Linked DNA regions of Homo sapiens: regions 2 and 3 are each linked to region 1. The links are contacts of gene promoters, found by promoter capture Hi-C in blood cells and fetal thymus (Javierre and others, 2016). All regions are on one chromosome and are shown on one strand. The core of a region is centred on a gene start or on the middle of the fragment in contact, and the rest is flanking DNA. Distances in the headings are between cores, read along the strand shown. Region 1 holds the start of MGAT4D (MGAT4 family member D). Region 2 holds the start of UCP1 (uncoupling protein 1). Region 3 holds the start of CLGN (calmegin).

Region 1 (3,318 bases), core at 265-2,764:
AGGGAAGCCAAAAGATTGGACATCCCTGCCCTACATACTAAATAAATTCAGAGAAGGGGAAATCAGAGTGGTCTGCTGTAGCCAGGTTTTGATTCATGAAACAGATGAAACATGAGACCTGACGATGTGGAAAAAATTTCAATGGTCAGAGAGGACACTGGACATTGTGGGCAGGGGGCAGACATAAAGAGAAAAGGCACAGAAGGAGAGAAGTGAACATGACATGTTCAGAGTAGGATTGAAAAAAGAGTCTGGCAGGTGCCAGAGGCATGTAAGGGCGCCCTGGGAGATGAGAAAGCAGTGAGTGGCCTTCGATTGAGTGGGTCCATTTTCATTCAGGAGTGGAGCTACGTAAACAACAGTGACAGCTGACTGTGGTGAACTAGGAAGAGTATCTGGTATTGAAGTGTGGATTGCAGAGGGTAGATCCTGCAGACAGTGAGACCAGTTTGAATGTCACTGTGATCATCTGAGTATTGGGGATAGTAGCTAGCAACAGAAACACAATCCTTTAGGTAACTAAAGATTTTATAAATAATGAGATATAATGAACCAGAGTCCAAATGATTGTAAGAAGAACTATGATGCCACTGATAAAATCAAGGGACTCTGGGAAAACAGCTATTAATAGCTTGGTGAGGAAGTTTGGACATCTTGAATCTGATGTGGGACATTCAAGCTGAAGGGCTGGGTAGGCAACTGAAAATGCAAAAACTGGACCTCAAGTAAGAAGGCAGTGAAATGCTGAGTATGGAGATCTCTCTTTATGCTGAATAGCTTCCTTCTCCCACCCTAATCTTCCCTACGTTTTCTCCAACCTGCTCCACAGCCTAGAAGCCAGGTTTGGACCATCCAGTACATCAAGCTGAACTTTCTTGTCTTCTGGTTTTCAGTAGAGCTCAGCCAAAGGCAAGCACCGGCAACAGACTGAAGGGGTGAAGGAGAACATAGTTGAGGTGTCTCTCCTGGCTCCTTGTTTTGAGATCTGGCTGGGTCCCGGCTCAATGGAAAGTCACAGCTCCTAGCCATTAGCACATGAGAACACGCAGGCTATAGTGGCATCCTCAGGCTGGGGTATGTTCAAATCTTTCTTCCCCTTCAAGGGGACAGAAGCCAGCCCTTCCAACGTGCAGGGCTGATTTGAAGTAGAATGTTCAGATATTATAACAGACTGCCAGTGAGTCCTCAATGAGAGGAGAGCTTAGAGGGGAGAGATCAAGGAGTCCATAGAGAGTCTCATCCTACTGATGCTCTAGTGTTTCTCAGCTTGGGTAAAGCTTTGATAAGCCACTCGAGGAAAGTCACCTAACAGTTATTGCGCACCCACCACGTGCCAGGCAATGGGGCGCTTTCCCTAGTTTATCGTTTTTAACGACCAGTAGCCCTGGCCAGCGGTTTATAGCACGCGCTGAACCCTAGAGCAGGAAGCAAAAGGTGCAGAAGTTCTGTGGCAAGGCGGCTTCCCAGGGCGGGTGTGCTGGGGACCCACGCGGCACCGCGGGGAGGGGGCTCTGCGCGCTCAACCCCGTCCCTGGCATTATCCGCCGCCTCCACCCGCCGGCCTCCCGCAGCCTGGCCAGGGCCATGAGGACCAAGCAGGTGAACTTGCTGATCACCCTGGTCGCCGTCGCGTTGTTCAGCTTCTCTTGCTTCTCCATCTACAGGATAACTCAAACCAGTAAGCGGCGGGCCCTCCTCCCGCCTCCTTTCCCGCCGCGGGGGCTTCGGGGCTGCAGGAATGCAGGCGGGGCAGGGTCGGCGGGTGCGGAGGCGATGCGGGAAGCTGGCGGCGGCCGCCCGCGCTGGCACTGGGAGGCCCGCGTCGGTGCCTTCCCGAGGCCGCGCCTACCCCGGTCAGCGGCGGCTGGGCTGTAACCCGCGCCCCGACCTCCTCCTCCAGGGCCGCGTCCGGCCTGCACGCGCGCTAACGCATCTGGCCCAGGGTACCCGCCGCTCCCTTTTCCTCAAAGGTTCAAGGACCCCGTCTGTGCACTGCTTTTCCCCTCTCCTGTTCTTCCTTCTCGAAACTATGGCTGTCTGACCCCAAGAACTGCTCTTACACAGCCAGCATCTGTCCGCATCTTTCCTCCTTCGTGGTCTGGGTTACATCACCAGGCCCCGCTTCATGCCTCCCTCCTCCCTGGAGTGTTTTTTGCGTACCTGAAAAGAGGTGGTAGAAAGGAGAGGGACGTCCCTGACCACCTACAGCGCCGGCCCAGCGCCTGGACTTCTCCGATGGACCGCAGGCCTGTGTTCCGCTCCCACACACACTCAAGATGCAATTTCTCCTGGCCCATAGAAGTGCCAATTTAGGAAACAAAGGTACAGGTTGCCCAGTTTAATTTCAATTTCAGATAAACAATTATATATTAGTATAAAAAATTGCATGGGACATAATTATTCTAAAATATTTACGTCTTTTTTATTTTAATTTCAAATTTAACCAGGTATCCTATATTTGATCTTTTAACCCTAGTTGTCCGCGGTGTAAAATTTTAGCATTCAAGTAGTTAAATTTTTCAGTTTAAGACTTAGGAACCCTGTAAATTATGAACCCAGCCTTCCACGATTGCTCTTACGTTGTTTTCAGTTAAATTTTCGTTTATTTACACATGTATGACTTAAGTGCACACAAGGTAATCTTGGTAGGAGTGCTGAGGTTGAAGTTTGGGAGTGGCTTCATGTTTTAGCCCTCCAGTTAATACTAGATTTTATCATCATATACACAAAATATTCTATATCCTGCTTGTTTCAAAGATTAGGAATGCATATTAATTTATCTGCATTATAATATTTCTACTAATCTTTATAGTCATTTGACATAGTTTCCCTCCTCTTCATTTTCTATAAAGAACATCATCCAAATGTCTATTTTAGCACAATGAACAATAAGCACACTTATAACAAAAAATAAATGATTTCTTTTAATTAGAAAGCAAAATGTAAAGTTTTATAGTAATTTTTTTTTTAAGACAGAGTTTTCACTCTTGTTGCCCAGGCTGGAGTGTAGTGGCCACTGCACTGCAACCTGTGCCTCCCAGGTTCAAGCAATTCTCATGCCTCAGTCTCCTGAGTAGCTGGGATTACAGGCATGTGCCACCATGCCCGGATAATTTTTGTATTTTTAGTAGAGATAGGGTTTCACCATGTTGGGCAGGCTGGTCACAAACTCCTGCCCTCAGGTGATCCACCCACCTAGGCCTCCCAAAGTGCTGGGATTACAGGCATGAGCCACCACACCCAGCCTAGTAATTTTGGAAGGTAATTTAGAATGTTAACCTCAGAAGTTTTAATACCATTAATGATTTTATAATGAAA
Region 2 (3,318 bases), core at 480-2,979, 71 kb before region 1:
TCTTTGACTCCACATCTAATCATTCATAAAGCTGTATTGTCTATCAAATTAAATCTGACATTTATGTGAGAGCACTTCATAGTCTGTAAAGCACTACACAGGTGATAACATGAAGCTACACTCATAATGGATTTGCAGGCTCTGCTTCTCATTTGGCTTCTACAGCCTCATCCCTCACCAACTTCTTGCCCTACCTCTCTCTTTCTTCCCCATCACCCAATTTCCCAGTCAGTCAGGCCAACAGAATGCATTCTATATACGCGACTTGCTTTCCCCAACATCTTTGCCTGTATGCATGCCACTTATTTGCCTCAGTTGATCTTTATTTCAACAAGTGTTTGCAGAGGAGAAACCTCGCTGGCTCCTTCTCCTTTCTATTTTTTTTCAGAGGCTACCCGTCAGGTCAACATTGCCTTTTTCAGGGAAGCTCTGCAAGCCTGACCTCCCTTGGAAGTGCCTTAGGACTGGCTTCTTGCACAGTACACAACCTTTACTTATAGAGGGTTTGGAGATTATTCTTTATTCATGTCTTATTTCTCCTGCTCCTGGAGGAGATGACTCTGACTTCCACTGACTCTTTTGGGGGGCTTAAGTCAGGGTTGAGTACCAGAGGCCCTAAATAGCTGGACGTGGATTCTGGTAATATCAAATCCATCTTTGGCTTAACTGAGAGGTTCTGAAAGCTGGGACCTGACCTTGTCCATTTCCCTCTTTCTCCAGTTTCCTATTATTTCCCACTGTTTTTTTTAAAAGTTTTTTGTTTTCTTAAGTTTTCACAAGAATAAACATTGAAAATAAAATTTGCACAAAGATCGAACTAGGAAAGGCCACACAACCAACACATATTACATCATTATAGGTAAGTTAGCAGGGAGATTTCAGACCTGGGCTAGCTCTGGAACCACATTTTACACTGTTGAAAATAAAAGCTGGAGTACAGATGACTTTCCCAGGTTCACAGAGTTGGTAAGCTGGAGAGCTGCACCTGGAGCCAAGCAACCTGCCCTGTCCTTTCCACTGCACCCTCTAAGAAATCTAATTAGAAGGAACAGGTGGTATCTCATTTTGTACGGTGCTTTAGCAATGTACTATTTGCTTTCTAGTGTGTCTATTGTCTCGTTTGACATCTTCTCTCAAAAAGTGATGAAACGAAACGCTCTTTTTGACAAGTTCAGAGTGCTCTTGGTTCCTGTGTGGGATTCTTCCAAGTCTGAATTTGGTAGTGGGAAGAGAAGGAATCCGGAGGAAGGAGGATGAGAAGTTTAAAGGAGAGGAAAGGGAAGCAGAGAAGGCCGCAAGGTGCCTGCAAGATGTCTGGGGAGTTGGAGGAATGGAAGAGTGCCCCGCTCTTCCTTCTGGGAGAGCTCCAGCTAGGCAGAACCTTTCACCAAGGCTCTGATATCGTGCTGGTTTCCGAAAGCCCCAGCCGAAGGTGTGCAGCCAAAGGGTGACAGAAGGTGAGGCACGTGCGGGGGCGCGGGTGCTGACCGCCGCGGTGCGCCCTCCCTCCGACGTGCGGTGTGCGGGGCGCAGACAACCAGCGGCCGGCCCAGGGCTTTCGGGGAGCGAAGCAGGGCTCCCGAGGCACCGAGCGAGAATGGGAATGGGAGGGACCCGGTGCTCCCGGACACGCCCCCGGCAGGTCCCACGCCCGGGTCTTCTGAGACCTCGCGCGGCCCAGCCCGGGAGCGGCCCAGCTATATAAGTCCCAGCGGAAGACCGGAACGCAGAGGGTCCTGCTGGCGCGAGGGTGGGTAGGAGGGGACGCGGGGACTCGGCCCCCAACACCGCGCTCCGTCTGCAGCCGCCGCCTCTGCACCGCCGCTGCCCGGCGGTCGGTTCAAAAAACAGAAATCGGGTTTGCTGCCCGGCGGACAGGCGTGAAGAGCAAGGGAAAGGAACTTCCTCCACCTTCGGGGCTGGAGCCCTTTTCCTCTGCATCTCCAGTCTCTGAGTGAAGATGGGGGGCCTGACAGCCTCGGACGTACACCCGACCCTGGGGGTCCAGCTCTTCTCAGCTGGAATAGCGGCGTGCTTGGCGGACGTGATCACCTTCCCGCTGGACACGGCCAAAGTCCGGCTCCAGGTAGCTAGGCAGAGGGGTAAGACAAGGGGTCTCAGGACAGAGGGGACGCTGTTGCGTGCATTCCATTTATTCTCTGCTTTGGTGTAACCACTGTTTCTAGGTAGGGTAGGTGACCTTCCAAAGCAGTCTGGCCTTGTCCCAGGGCTGGTGCTTTAGGATGGGAAACTGGAACTTTTTCTGGGATTAGCTGAAGAACCACCAGGGCCACAGAGAATGGGTTGACCATGACTACTACCAAATTCTCCCAAAATTTAGGGTGCACTTAGTATTTTAAGAGCTGAGAATATTGGCCTCTCCTGAGTTTACTAGTCAGGTGCTTTTTCCTTTCTTTGATTCTTCGGGGGTTCTGTCCTATCCTACTGCCCTAGGGGTTCTGGAGAGTTCCTGGGGAGGGGGATATTCAAAATGTGCATTGTAGCCAGCCTCCCTCCATCTGCGCGTGAGCGAACACACACACACACACACACACACACACACACACACACACACACACACGGTAGAGGGAGGTGGATGGAAGAGGAATGTTGCTGAGAAAAGAAACGGAAAATAGGAACACAGGGGGAAATCTTGGCTTAAGAGTGAACTCAATTTCGCTCCCTTCTGTTCTGCACCTTTCTTATTTCCAGGTCCAAGGTGAATGCCCGACGTCCAGTGTTATTAGGTATAAAGGTGTCCTGGGAACAATCACCGCTGTGGTAAAAACAGAAGGGCGGATGAAACTCTACAGCGGGCTGCCTGCGGGGCTTCAGCGGCAAATCAGCTCCGCCTCTCTCAGGATCGGCCTCTACGACACGGTCCAGGAGTTCCTCACCGCAGGGAAAGAAAGTAAGCCGTGAGCGTTCCTGGGAGGGGCAGAAAAGCCTTGGGCTCCGCTCTGTTCCAAAAAGTGTAACACACAGAGGAGTGGTTTTCATAACAAATTGGCGAGAAAACATTCATATTTGAACTCTCCCTTCCCCAAACATTAGCTCATTGTTCATAGAAAAAAGTATGCAAAATCGATTTTTTAGATGCAGATATATACTTGTAAAGGTCACCCAGTCATGGAAGTTTTGTGCCCAGTTTGGATCTCCATCTGGAGAATATGGGTGGGCTACAGAAAAATGTTTAACTTAAAGTTCTCCAAAGAGGGAAGTATATCAGAAACATCTATGGAGCTTGTCAGAAATCCAAACGAGGACTACCATGGTCCTCTGAGTCTGAATCCTCAGGCTAGAGACCAGAGTGTCTTT
Region 3 (3,318 bases), core at 564-3,063, 71 kb after region 1:
ATTCAGCATTACATTCTGGGACTCCTCCGCTTGTATTATTAAACACTACATCACTCTCAAAAGCCATACCCCTTGTCTTATTTGCAGATTATTCTTTCTCCTCTGACATTATCACATTGTATTATTCTGATGAAAAGTTGCCTATTAAACAAATTATAAATATTATATTCAATCATCCTTTCAATAAGTGGCAAATAATTTTGGAGATATGTTAAGGCCTTAAATTTCAAGGTTAGAGATTAGATTTCATGCTGTGGGTAATGAAGGGTCATTGGAAACTATTGAATGAGCTGAGGATTAAACTACGAAGTGTAGGTGGGAGGCTCTGAAGGGGGGCAACTAGTTAGGTAACTCTGAACAACAGTTTCTAAAGTAGTGAGAATCTAAACTAGAGAAATGGCACAGGGACTGGAGGGGGTGAGGACCTCTTTTAGATGATTTTATGGAGTTAGAGTTTAATTTATGGAGGCAGTGAATGTAGCAGCCAAAGAGTAAAAAAATGTTCTCAAGGTTTTGAGTACTATGTGACCAAGAAGATACTACTAAATCTTGCAAAAATTCACTATTCTTACATTTTTAGTTTTCAGCTTCCTCACTGCAAACTTTGAATGGATCCTTTAAAAAATCCCTCTCTAGCAGTTCAAGTGTATTTGTTATGGGCCACAGAAGTATGTTGAATAATAGAAGTCAGAAGGACGGAAGAAAGAAATAAAGGGTATAATATTGTTACAAAGTATCTCAAACAAAATGTCTTTTTAACCAGTAAATTTTAACACTATCCAAACACTCTCCCAGAGATGACAAAGTCAAAAGTTTAGAAATGCTGGTCTTAATTAGTGAAGCAATGTGAAAAAACTCAGTGATCTTGACCCCTAGCCAATAATGATACGTTGTGCACGGAATGCCACCAAACCCTTAAGATTGAAACTCTTCAACAAGGGTCTTAGACTCACAAGTCAATTAAATGTTGTTAATTAATCTTCCAATAAAATTAAATTGTTATACCAAATTCAAAGTCAAGATTTACTATAAAATATTAAGTAGTAAAATTAATATTGATCCAATATATAAAAGGCAAAGCAGCTTGTGATTGCATAATCATAGCATAAACTACGTTTATGCTAAGATTTATTTCAATGTGTTTGAAACTACAGGCTCTGAGAGAGACAGGCCTGATTTACATCCCGTTTCCACTGTTTACATGTTGTGTAACTTCGAGCAAGTTGCCATCAGTTTCATCACCTGGGTTGCCACGAAGGTTAAACAATGAATGTAAGCCCCTTAGAGCACAATGAACACAATAAATGTTAGCAGCTCTTATTAATAGTGTTGTTCGAGAGAAAAAGAACATATTGTTTTATATACAATGTATTTATTAACACTTAACGCATCTGTATTTGTCATATACACACACCAGACAGGAAAGCTCCTTATTAATCACCATGACTGCAGATCTGTTAACATCTAGAACTCTGGAGAAAACCTAGAGCCCTAATCTTGCTGCACTTATTACTGGACGTTGTTCATAAATATGATTTACATAAAATTCAGGACCCAATCATTGCGCAACAGGAGGTAGCACGGTCTGCAGAGAGGGCGGGAGCTCAGAGGAGGAAAAGTCTTCGGACTTGCAGGGGGAATTCCTCCTGGGCTAACCCGGGAGCGGGGTCCAGGCCACAACCGGCCGGCGGCGGCACAGGCTCCATGTGCGGCTCCCCCTGGAGGCGGTTGAGCCCCTCGGAGCAGGAGCGCGTAGCACACACCTCGGGCCGCCACCGCCTCCCGCCCGCCACCGCACGCGCACGCGCGGTTAGTAGTCGCTGCTGCGCGGCCGCCGGCGGGACTGGTCTGAAGAGACGCGGGGACCAAGTGGCAACGACTTGGACATCTGAGCTGTCACTGCCGAAAACAGGCCGCAAGAGAGGTGCGTGAGCAGCAGGCCGCGTTCCCGCTGTCCCGCTGCCCTTTGCGCGCAGATTGGGGTGAGGAAGCGGAGTCGTTGCTGCTTCCCCCAGGCACCCCGTTACTTTGCCGCCAGAGGGCTGAACCGGTCGGGGCCAAGTGAGGGTGGATGTTGAGTCTGGCGATGGGGCTGCAGCGAGCTAGGGTCTTGACTGGGCTCTGGCGGCCCCGTGGGTGGACGCAGGAGGTGGTGCCACCTGGGACCCTTTGTGTCTTCAGCACCGCCGCATCCACCTGCTGCGCCCGGGCTGGGGCGGACGAGCACGGGGACAGCTAGGTGCCTAGCCCGGCCGGCCTCCCCTGCGGGCTTGAGGAGCCACCGGGAGCCGAGGCCGTTATTCCAGCGGTTGCCATTGCAGCCCCGTTCCACGCTTGAGCCCGGGGCGCTCTCCCAATGGTTGTAGAGGGGGCCCGGGGCGCGTCTGGGCGCTGCTCACTCTGCTGACTGCTCCTTACAGAAACCCAAACGAGATCAAAATAGGCTCGGCTGTCTCAGTCTCCACCTATGTGGAAGCGAAGGGACCCCACTTCACGGCGGTGGGGCCAGGGACTGTTGGCCGCTCCCTCGATACCCGCGCAGAGCCCATTGTGCGCCGCCGGGGGGCGGGCGAAAGGGCTGGGTTGAATCCAGAGAGGCCCTAATTACTAGACTCATTATCGCCCCAGGCCTGTTTACCATCAATCAGACACTTTCGCTGATTTTATTTATAGCATCTGCCCAAGCAACAAAGAGGAGGTGTTTGCTTGGGAGTTAAAAGCAAATGGCAACCAAAGCTCAGGACTGGGAGAGAAAAGGTAAATAACGTGGCCACAGGAAGAAGTCTCAAATTAGAAAAGAGTTCATTAACGTATAAACTTTTTGTTGCTTAAAAGCAGGCAAAATCCCGATCTCATCTGATGATTTTGCTTGTTTTACAAATGTCGACATCACTCGAGGTAGCCCTCCTTTGGGTCATTGTAAGTTTGACCTGTTTTCAGTTTGGAGTTTTGCCTTCACGTCTTATTGGTTTGATCTTCCAGTAACATTTAGATCTCATCTCCAAATCCTCAGAACAAGATATTCTGTACTCTCTGTCTTAGCTAGTTGATAAGGTTAATTATTGTGTGTAAATGATGTAAGTATGTTGATGCATTTGTCTAGAAATTGAAGTGTTGTAAGTTAGCTGTAGTACTTTTTAAGTACCTAATAAATACTGGTGTTTTTAAATAGAAAACTAGAATTATGAACTTTAAAGAATCTTTGGATTGTCTAGTTCACGTCACAAATGAGAAAACAGGCCCACAGCAGTTTTTATCACTTGTCTTTTTAATAATAAAACTAGAAACTTGGTGCGATTGTGCCATGTTGGGTGTACT

The links. The method cuts DNA at HindIII sites, captures the fragments that hold promoters and counts their contacts. A CHiCAGO score of 5 or more calls a contact.
Region 2: a contact is called between the fragment with the promoter of UCP1 here and the fragment with the promoter of MGAT4D in region 1, in 17 of 17 cell types (erythroblasts, neutrophils, activated CD4 T cells and 14 more). The highest score is 12.8, in erythroblasts.
Region 3: a contact is called between the fragment with the promoter of CLGN here and the fragment with the promoter of MGAT4D in region 1, in 17 of 17 cell types (total CD4 T cells, monocytes, neutrophils and 14 more). The highest score is 10.9, in total CD4 T cells.

The regions. Positions count from the first base shown.
Region 1 is chr4:140,496,489-140,499,806 of GRCh38, reverse strand. MGAT4D (MGAT4 family member D) reads left to right here and starts at 1,514. Exons shown (of 11, transcript NM_001277353.2): 1 at 1,514-1,678. The coding sequence starts at 1,585. RefSeq lists enhancers at 993-1,492, 1,493-1,994. The HindIII fragment of the contact is 3,126 bases long and covers 1,280-3,318 here.
Region 2 is chr4:140,567,372-140,570,689 of GRCh38, reverse strand. It overlaps UCP1 (uncoupling protein 1), which reads left to right and starts at 1,729. Exons shown (of 6, transcript NM_021833.5): 1 at 1,729-2,086; 2 at 2,713-2,911. The coding sequence starts at 1,961. The HindIII fragment of the contact is 4,953 bases long and covers 1-3,318 here.
Region 3 is chr4:140,426,143-140,429,460 of GRCh38, reverse strand. CLGN (calmegin) reads left to right here and starts at 1,813. Exons shown (of 15, transcript NM_004362.3): 1 at 1,813-1,924. RefSeq lists an enhancer at 2,607-2,656. The HindIII fragment of the contact is 13,619 bases long and covers 1-3,318 here.